Linked DNA regions of Homo sapiens: all the other regions are linked to region 1. The links are contacts of gene promoters, found by promoter capture Hi-C in blood cells and fetal thymus (Javierre and others, 2016). All regions are on one chromosome and are shown on one strand. Each heading gives the region's core, a stretch centred on a gene start or on the middle of the fragment in contact. The rest is flanking DNA. Distances are from core to core; before and after follow the strand shown. Region 1 holds the start of MAST4 (microtubule associated serine/threonine kinase family member 4). Region 2 overlaps LINC02065 (long intergenic non-protein coding RNA 2065). Region 3 overlaps LOC124900988 (a long non-coding RNA gene).

Region 1 (2,660 bases), core at 119-2,618:
CTGGAGGAACATCCTTCCAGGAAACTGGGCAGATACAGATCCCCCACCCCGCTCCGCCCCGCAAAAGGTAAGACGATCTGTACTCGGTTTGGTGACAAGCGTTCATCTGGACAAGCTGGAAACAAGTCTGAACGGGAGCTGCAGGCGCGCACGCCAGCGCCACCGAGGGAGCGCGGGGAGTCCTCTTCTCCCAGAGGACCGACGCTGCGGGGACGCGCCAAAACCACCCGCGGGCGATCCCAGGGGGCTGGCGCCACTGAAACCTCCGCAGGCAACTCCGCGGCTACCGCTGCCCCCCACCCTACTCCTGCCTCTTACCCCCAAGGCACCATTTCTCCCCCTCAACTCCCTGCCCCTCGGCCCAAGCGCTTCGGTGGGAAACAACGCCCACTTTGGAGAATCAGAGGTGAGTTGTGGGGACACGCCAGATGTCCAGATCGCATCCTTTCACAGATCAACCAAGTCAGATACAAACACGAAGGAGTTTGCTTCTCTGACATTTTAAAAACACACCATCAGGCAGCACACTGAGACACACACACGGGGGTAACAGCCACAGGGAAGTCAATAACCCACAGGGGGGCTCCTAACTATCGTTGTCCCGTGCTCGGGGCAGAGCGCTTGGGGTCCCTCCCTATCTCCAGGCCACAGCGCTCTCCTGCCCACTGCCTGTGCGCAGGATGGGAAACTACGGTCGCCCGGCTGCCGGAACCCAGAGTGGGCAAGCTGGGGAAAGGCCCACCTCCTCGTCCTGCTCCTCCTGGGACGCGCTGCTGCCCCGGGGCGCGGGCGGCACAGCTCCTCCGGGAAGCGGCGGCGGCAGCGCAAGGACTCCGCGCTCCAGCAGCACGCTTGCCGGAGCCCACGCGGCGGGCGCCCGGGCGCCCAGGGTGCCTCCCAACGGCGGCGGCGGCGGCGGCTGATGCTCTCTGGAGAAGCCGCCGGGCTCCCCTTCCTCCGACAGAGTTTCTGAGCCCGAGGAGGACTCGGCCGAGGAAGCACCCGGAGAGGACGCGGCGACCAGCGCAGAGGCTGGAGTCCGGCTGCCGTGGCCACTGCAGCCGCGGGGCACCGGCTCTGGCGCCTCCGAAACTTTCTCCCCCATTTCCCTGTCTGGCCCAAAGTGCCTCCCGAGCGGCGGGGGCGCGGCGCGCACTCAGCGCCTCCCGGGGAAGACGCGGGCTCCTGGGCTCAGGCTCACTGGCACTGCCGCTCCCGGGCTGCAGGGAGCCCCGCCAGCGACTACATGGCAGTGACGGGGCCGCAGGAGCCCGCTGCTAAGTTCACAGCCGCCCGGGCCCGGCCGCAAACGGAGGCTCCCGCGCGCGGGGACATGCCCGCTCGGGTCCGCGATCTGCGCTCCACTGTGCTCCCGCGCTGCACCCGAGCCGCGGGTACTGCGGCTTCTCCTTGCAAAACCTGCCTCCGGGACGGAGCAAGGAGACGGGCAGCCCGCAGAGCCAATGGCAGGGCAGGCGCGCTGGTGGGCGGAGGCTGCGACGCCTCCGGCCATGAGGGCCTCAGGTAGGGGAGGCGGGGCCCGGGCGCGGGCCGTGGTCCCGCTGGAGCGCCTGGGCGCAGGGGACAGGGACCAGGCGGGGGTCCCCGGAGGGTGGGGGCGGAGCCCAGAATCGGAGCCAAGGGCTGAGACTCCGAACTTAGCGGGGGAGTGGCTGACCGTCCTTGGGACGTCAGAGGGAGACGGCGAGCGGATGGTGAGACCTTGGAGAAGAACTGGACTTTGTCTCCAAAAAGTGGAATCAAGAAAACGGACAAGAAGGAGGGCTCTATAGGGAAAAAAGGAACCACACACACACAGTCACCCACGCACACGGACTCACCAGCGTGTTGGAGGAAAAGGACAGAAACTTCGTGGTATAGTGAGCGGACCCAAAGGGGAGTGACCTCTAATCTCTGCTTTTCCGTTTAAGCTCTTTGGGCCTCAGTTTCCTCAACTGTAAATGGCTACATTACTACTGGTCTTGGCAGGCTTAGAGCAAATATATATAATGCATCAGCAAAGTGCCTGGCTTGGATACACGGAGCGTTTTTAAAAGACTATTTCCTGTCTTTATTTCTGTTTGTAAACTAAAAAGTTAAGTCTGAGACTTGAACCTTTTGATAGGGAGGAAGATAAAAAAGTATGTCCTTGTATTTAATTAGGACCAAGCTCTGTAGTCCTACTCAAATTGTCTGTCTCGGTATGATCAGCTAAGCAGAGGATGAAAAGGATTCACTTTCCAATGTACATTCTCCTAGCCCTGGGTTGTAAACCAACAGGATACAGGACAGGTTGCTTCATTTTCCTTACCTCTAAGAACTAGGAGAAAGAACTTTCACTAAAGGTACCAATAGAGTACCCTTAAGTCCTTCCCTGGGGCTGGAGGATGCTGCCTGTCCGGTGACTGGAATTTCCTTGGAAGCCAGCACTCAGCTCAGCAGTGGGAAATAAATGATTCCTCTCTTGCCTTCAGCTCTAGTCCCATTCTGAGCTCTGGCACAGTGACCTGGGATGTAAATTCAACCGCCTCAGTTCCATGTACGTTGATGGAGATGTGTGCCAGGTGCAGGGGATACAAAGATTAATAAGTCAGGTCCCCTGCCCTTGAGCAGCTTATGGTCAAGCGAGAGATTGATACTGCATAATATAGCTCCCTTAT
Region 2 (2,660 bases), core at 108-2,607, 390 kb after region 1:
CTCCTCCCCCAGCTGAGCGAGGATCAACAGACCTGGTTCCCCGCCACTGCTCCATTGAGCTTGATCTGGAAAATGAGGACTCACAGTCCTGCTTAGGACACATAGTGGGGGAGGTTGGGCTCGGTGGAGCCAGACAGCATACTCAGTCATTTTAACAACTTGTTATTTTTGAGGCCCCAAGCTCCAGAAATGAATTTGGAAAGAAAATGAAAAAAATAACAAGACAGATAGCAGGAATTCAAACTCCACTAACAAAGGCCATCAGCTGAAACCAATTTGGACAGCTCAGCTCAGTCTCGGCTCATGAACTTCGCTTTACCTCAGAAAAGCCCTTCAGCACAGCACACGTGCACACACATGCTCACTCACTCTTACAAAAGGCAGGACTGGGTTTCAGAGCTATGCAGCAAGACAGAAGCAAAAGAAGCTTGCTTCCTTTTATTTAAGTGATAATCTCTGTGGTTTTGACTTCAGTAACTGTGATATTGTGATTTATAAGAAGAAATAACATATTTTGGTCTTCTTCCAGTTTCAGGGCACAGAACTCCTAAAACCTTTGGAATTTCCCAAGTTATAAGTACCCTTTTGTATGCTAGCGAGATGATCCCTGGCTGGGGACTAATGGAGAGCCTCAAGATGCCAGGAGAAACAACCATGTGATTAGAGGGTTAGAACTTTCAGCACCCCCACACCACCCTCCTTCAGGAAGGGGAGAGAGACTGTAGGTTGAGTTGATCTCCAATGGCCAGTGATTTAATCACTCATGCCTACATAATGAAGCCTTCATAGCAACCATAAGAATAGAATTCAGAGAGCTTCCAGGTTGCTAGTACACCCAGAGAGGGCATGGAAGCTCCAAGACACCTTACTCATATCTTGTCTTATGCATCTCTTCCTTTATACATATTTTACACATTTTTTAACTTTTTATTATTTTTTAAATAGAAACAGGGTCTTGCTATGTTGCCCAGACTGGTCTTAAACTTCTGGCCTCAAATGATCCTCCTGCCTCAGCCTCCCAAAGTGCTGGGGTTACAGATGTGTGCCACCACGCCATCTCTTCCACCCGGCCATTCATCTGTATCTTTTGTGATGTATTCTATAATAAGCCAGGAAACATAAATGAAACACTTTCCTGAGTTCTGTGAGCTGCTCTAACAAATGATTGAATCTGAGGAGGGGGTCATGGGAACTCCCAATTTGTACCCAGTCATTAGAAGCACGAGTCACAATCTGGGATTTTCAACTGGCATCGGAAATAGGAGGTTGTCTTGTGGGACTGAGCCCTAACCTGTGGGATCTGACTCTAGGTTAGAGTATCAGAATTGAACTGAATTCAGGACACCCAGTTGGTGTCTGCTGGAGAATTGGTTGTTGCGGAAATCCCCTGACACATTTTTGTGACCTAATGTGAAGTTTGCTGTGTTGAGTGTTGAGAGTATAGTAGAAGAAAACAGCCAGTTAGTTTGCTTTCCTACTACTATCCAGGTATCTTAAAACATAGTATGTCAAATACGGAACTGTTTATTTTCAGCCACACCCTCCCCAACAAAATCCTTTTCCTCCTCCAGGCTGTCATGTCATTTATTGGCACCACCTTCAACACAACTACTCAAGCCCAGTTGCTGAGCATCATCTGGAATCCTTTCACCTTCCCATGCACAATCCTTGAGATCCGGAGATGCTACCTCCAAAAGGCAACCAAAAAATCTAACGACGACTCACTATCTTCCCATCTACTGTCCAGTTGTGTATATATGCGTCTATGGACCAGGTAGTGTGTCAAAGGTATTTCTTAGCTGTAGGGTTGCAGCAAAAAAGTTTGGAAGCTATTCATTGCCCATTAGGCAATTAAAGAGTAAAGATGTGGCCCCTGCCTACATCTTTAATCTCATCTTCTGTCATCTCCCCCTCTTTGCTCCTTTAGTCCCTGGAAAGTGGTAAGCTCTTTCCTGCCTTGGGGCCTTAGTATTTGCTGTTAACTCTACCTGGAACATTCTCCTTATCTTTCCCATGGCTGATTCACTGCCATCCTTCAAGTCTCAGTTTAATGTCATATCCTCAGAGAGGCCCCCCATCCATATTATGTAAACCATGTCTTCTTCCCATCACTACACGCTATGGTCTGAAAGTTTGCATCTCCCCAAAATTCATATATTGAAACCTAATCCCCAATGCAATAGGATTAAGAGGCGGGACCTTTAGGAAATAATTAGGTCTTGAGGGTAAAGCCCTCATGAATGGGATTAGTGCTTTTATATAATAAAAGAGGCCTGAAGAAGCTTATTAGCCCCTTCTGCCATGTGAAGACTCATAGAAAGTGCCATCTATGAGGAAGCAGGCCCTCACCAGACATCAATGCTGCTGCCTTGATCTTGGGCTTCCCAGCCTCCAGAACTGTGAACAATGAATTTCTGTTGTTTATAAGTTACCTATCTAAGGTATTTTGTTATAACAGTCCAAATGGACTAAGCCCTAAAGGACTTTTTCTAATGAATAGCTACAGGTTGATTTACGATCAGTTTTTTTATGAGACTGTAAGCCTTCTGAGGTCAGTAATGGTGTGTGTATGTGACTGTACCCTGCATCTGCATCCTACTTTTACCTAACAAAAAGAGCCTCACAGAAAGCTTTGGCAATTAATGACAGCCTGTAGAGTT
Region 3 (2,660 bases), core at 66-2,565, 270 kb after region 1:
TTGAGCTGTTGCTGTTGTCTTTGGTTATTTTCCCTTTCATTCCATCGGTGTGATTTCGTCCCTAATGGCCCCTGTGGAAAGTTCAGCAGCCCGTGGCATCACAGTGGTTCAGAGGATGCATTGCACAAATGAGAAATCTTACATACATCTCCTGCTTCTCCTCTTACACAGCCCTTTGGAAAGAAATTTCTCTCCATGTTTAATCAGTGGTGCACTCACTTCGTCCTTGCTAGATTTTGAATGCACAACCACATCCCACCTCATTAGTGACAAGAAAGCTGAGCCGTCAAGCATGGCTTACACTCCAGGAGCGGGGTCTGTATTAGAGCAAGGTCCAGGATCCACGCACAAGCTGAGTTGGCTTTTTCTTTTCTTTTAAGCTTTATCGATCTCAGGAAGAACTGAAGGTCTGTTGAAAAAGTGTGGGAATCAGCTCAACATACTAATTTATGTATTATTTATGCACTTAAAGAAGCCTAGACTCCCGGCAAGAAAGAAAAATGTGTGCAATAGAACTGCCATTGTATTCAATCCCAACATCCGGAGCACTTCACACACGCACTGTGAAGTCTCATGGGGGAGAATGGGATATGGGAAGCAAAGCAGAATTTGAAATTGGCCTGTGCTTGAGCACCACCTCCATCATGAGACCGGGGCAAATGACTGCACCTCTCTAGGCTTCAATTTTCTCATCTCTAAAATGCAGACAAATGCCTATTTGCAGGGTTATTATAAGAATTAAATGAGAAAAGTAGTGCATGAATTTCTAAGTCATTACAAATGCCTGTTGTAGGTATCCTGTGTGAGGAGGGGCACAGGTCCTGCTCCTGGGTTTCTTGTCATGGAATGGCCGCCTTTCCTGACCAAAGGCCCCAGTGAGAACAGACAACCCTAGAGCACTAAAGAATTCTCCTATCTTTACCAATAGGACACAGAACAAAGACTTGCTCCATTAATTCAGGCCACAGCTAGCATGCATCCATCACTCAATCTCTCTCTCTCTCTATACACATACATACATATATATACATATATATACATACATATATATGTATATATATGTATGTATGTGTATATATATATATATAAAATAAAATAAAACCACCTCAGTCACCCACCTACCATAAAGCAATAAGTCCAGTATTTTCCTAATAACCTCAGCCCCATATTAATGGCCAGCCTGCCTCTCATATTCGGCAAGGAGAGCACTGGTCTCTGAACAATCCACTCCTGCCTGGTTCCTTGCTGCCACCAACATGGCTGCTGAACTCTGACTGCCCACAGCCTGAGATGTTCCCTCCACACTGTGCTGGCCTTATACCTTTGGTCTTCTGAGGGAGGATGGTCAACTTTAATGTCCAGCTCAGCGAAGGCTGTGCACCCCTCTCCCCAGCAAGGGTTCTAGGACAGCAGTTCTTAGGTGATACTCCCTCCCTCCCTCCTCCAGGTGTCAGGATTCCAGGGATTGTCTGTCAGAATTGTTTTACATAGCAAGAACTCTCTGACTATTTCAATTCCCCGTAATCCACATCCCTGTGCCTCCAACCCCTAGAAAGCAAGCAGATCTTTCTTTTCAGCCTTTGAAATCCACTGGTTCTCCTCCTGTTCAATATCCCTGCTTCTAGCTAATTGAAACTATATATATGTTATTGTTAACTACAGTCATCCTACAGTGGTATAGAACACTAGAACTCACTCCTCCCATCTAGCCATAATTTTGTGTCCTTTAACAAATCTCTCCCTAGCCCCCTCTTCCCCCAACTCTTCCCGGCCTCTAGTATCCTCTATTCTACTTTTCATTTCTATAAGATCAACTTTTTCTAGCTTTCACATATAAGTGAGAATATATAGTGTTTAACTTTCTGTTCCTAGCTTATTTCACTTAACATAGTGTCCTCCAGTTCCCTCCATGGTGCCACAAATGACAGGATTTCATTCTTTTTATGGCTGATTAATAGTCCATTGTGTGTGTGTGTATATATATATATATATATATATATCACATTTTCTTTATCTGCTCATCTGTTGTTGGACACCTAGGTTGATTGCAGGTCTTGGCTATTGTGAATAGTGCTGCAATAAACACAGGGGTTCAGATGGCCCTTCAATATAATGATGTCTTTTCCTTTGAATAAATTCCTACAGCTCCCCTTTGTTCCCTTCCCCCCTCATCCTCCCCTCCCCACTCCATCCCGACGCGTACCTCATCTTCTCTCCTTCCCACCCACATCCAAAAAGGACAAAGCTTCCTCTTCAGTTTCACCACAGTGACTTAATCTCTTGTGCAAAAGACAAGGTAAATCCTCGGTAAGACCTTTTACTACAGTTGCAATATTTATCCAAATTGTCTTATGTGGGACAAACTCTGTGCTCGATAGTTCACATCCTTACCTCACTTAATTCTCACAACGACTTTGTGTAAATATTACAAAGAGAAACTGAGATTCTAAGGGGTTAAACGGCTGTTCCAAGGTCACACAGCTTGTCGACTCCACCACTTGTTAGAGCCCCTATCCCCTGGCATTCAGCTCCACACTCCTGTCCTGTATATTTCACAACACTTACTATGCCAGGACTTCTTAGCAGTTCGTAGCACTTCTCACAAAATAATCATTTCATCCTCACATACCCTGTGAGGTAAGTACTATTATTATCCCATT

What was found. Contacts are between HindIII fragments. The CHiCAGO score rates a contact against its expected background, and 5 or more counts as called.
Region 2: a contact is called between a fragment that was not itself captured here and the fragment with the promoter of MAST4 in region 1, in 1 of 17 cell types (M1 macrophages). The highest score is 5.0, in M1 macrophages.
Region 3: a contact is called between a fragment that was not itself captured here and the fragment with the promoter of MAST4 in region 1, in 7 of 17 cell types (endothelial precursors, M2 macrophages, M1 macrophages and 4 more). The highest score is 7.1, in endothelial precursors.

Annotation. Positions count from the first base shown.
Region 1 is chr5:66,595,101-66,597,760 of GRCh38, reverse strand. MAST4 (microtubule associated serine/threonine kinase family member 4) reads right to left here and starts at 1,368. Exons shown (of 29, transcript NM_001164664.2): 1 at 743-1,368. The coding sequence starts at 1,105. RefSeq lists silencers at 623-772, 783-922, 1,533-1,732. The HindIII fragment of the contact is 7,618 bases long and covers 1-2,660 here.
Region 2 is chr5:66,205,565-66,208,224 of GRCh38, reverse strand. LINC02065 (long intergenic non-protein coding RNA 2065) reads left to right here. Exons shown (of 2, transcript NR_146488.1): 2 at 1,572-2,660. All of the region lies in intron 3 of LOC401191 (a long non-coding RNA gene), which reads right to left. Among named protein-coding and RNA genes, the nearest start is that of LINC02065, 2.6 kb to the left of the region's middle. The HindIII fragment of the contact is 1,855 bases long and covers 430-2,284 here.
Region 3 is chr5:66,320,582-66,323,241 of GRCh38, reverse strand. LOC124900988 (a long non-coding RNA gene) reads right to left here. Exons shown (of 3, transcript XR_007058792.1): 3 at 1-409. Among named protein-coding and RNA genes, the nearest start is that of LINC02065, 110 kb to the right of the region's middle. The HindIII fragment of the contact is 1,865 bases long and covers 383-2,247 here.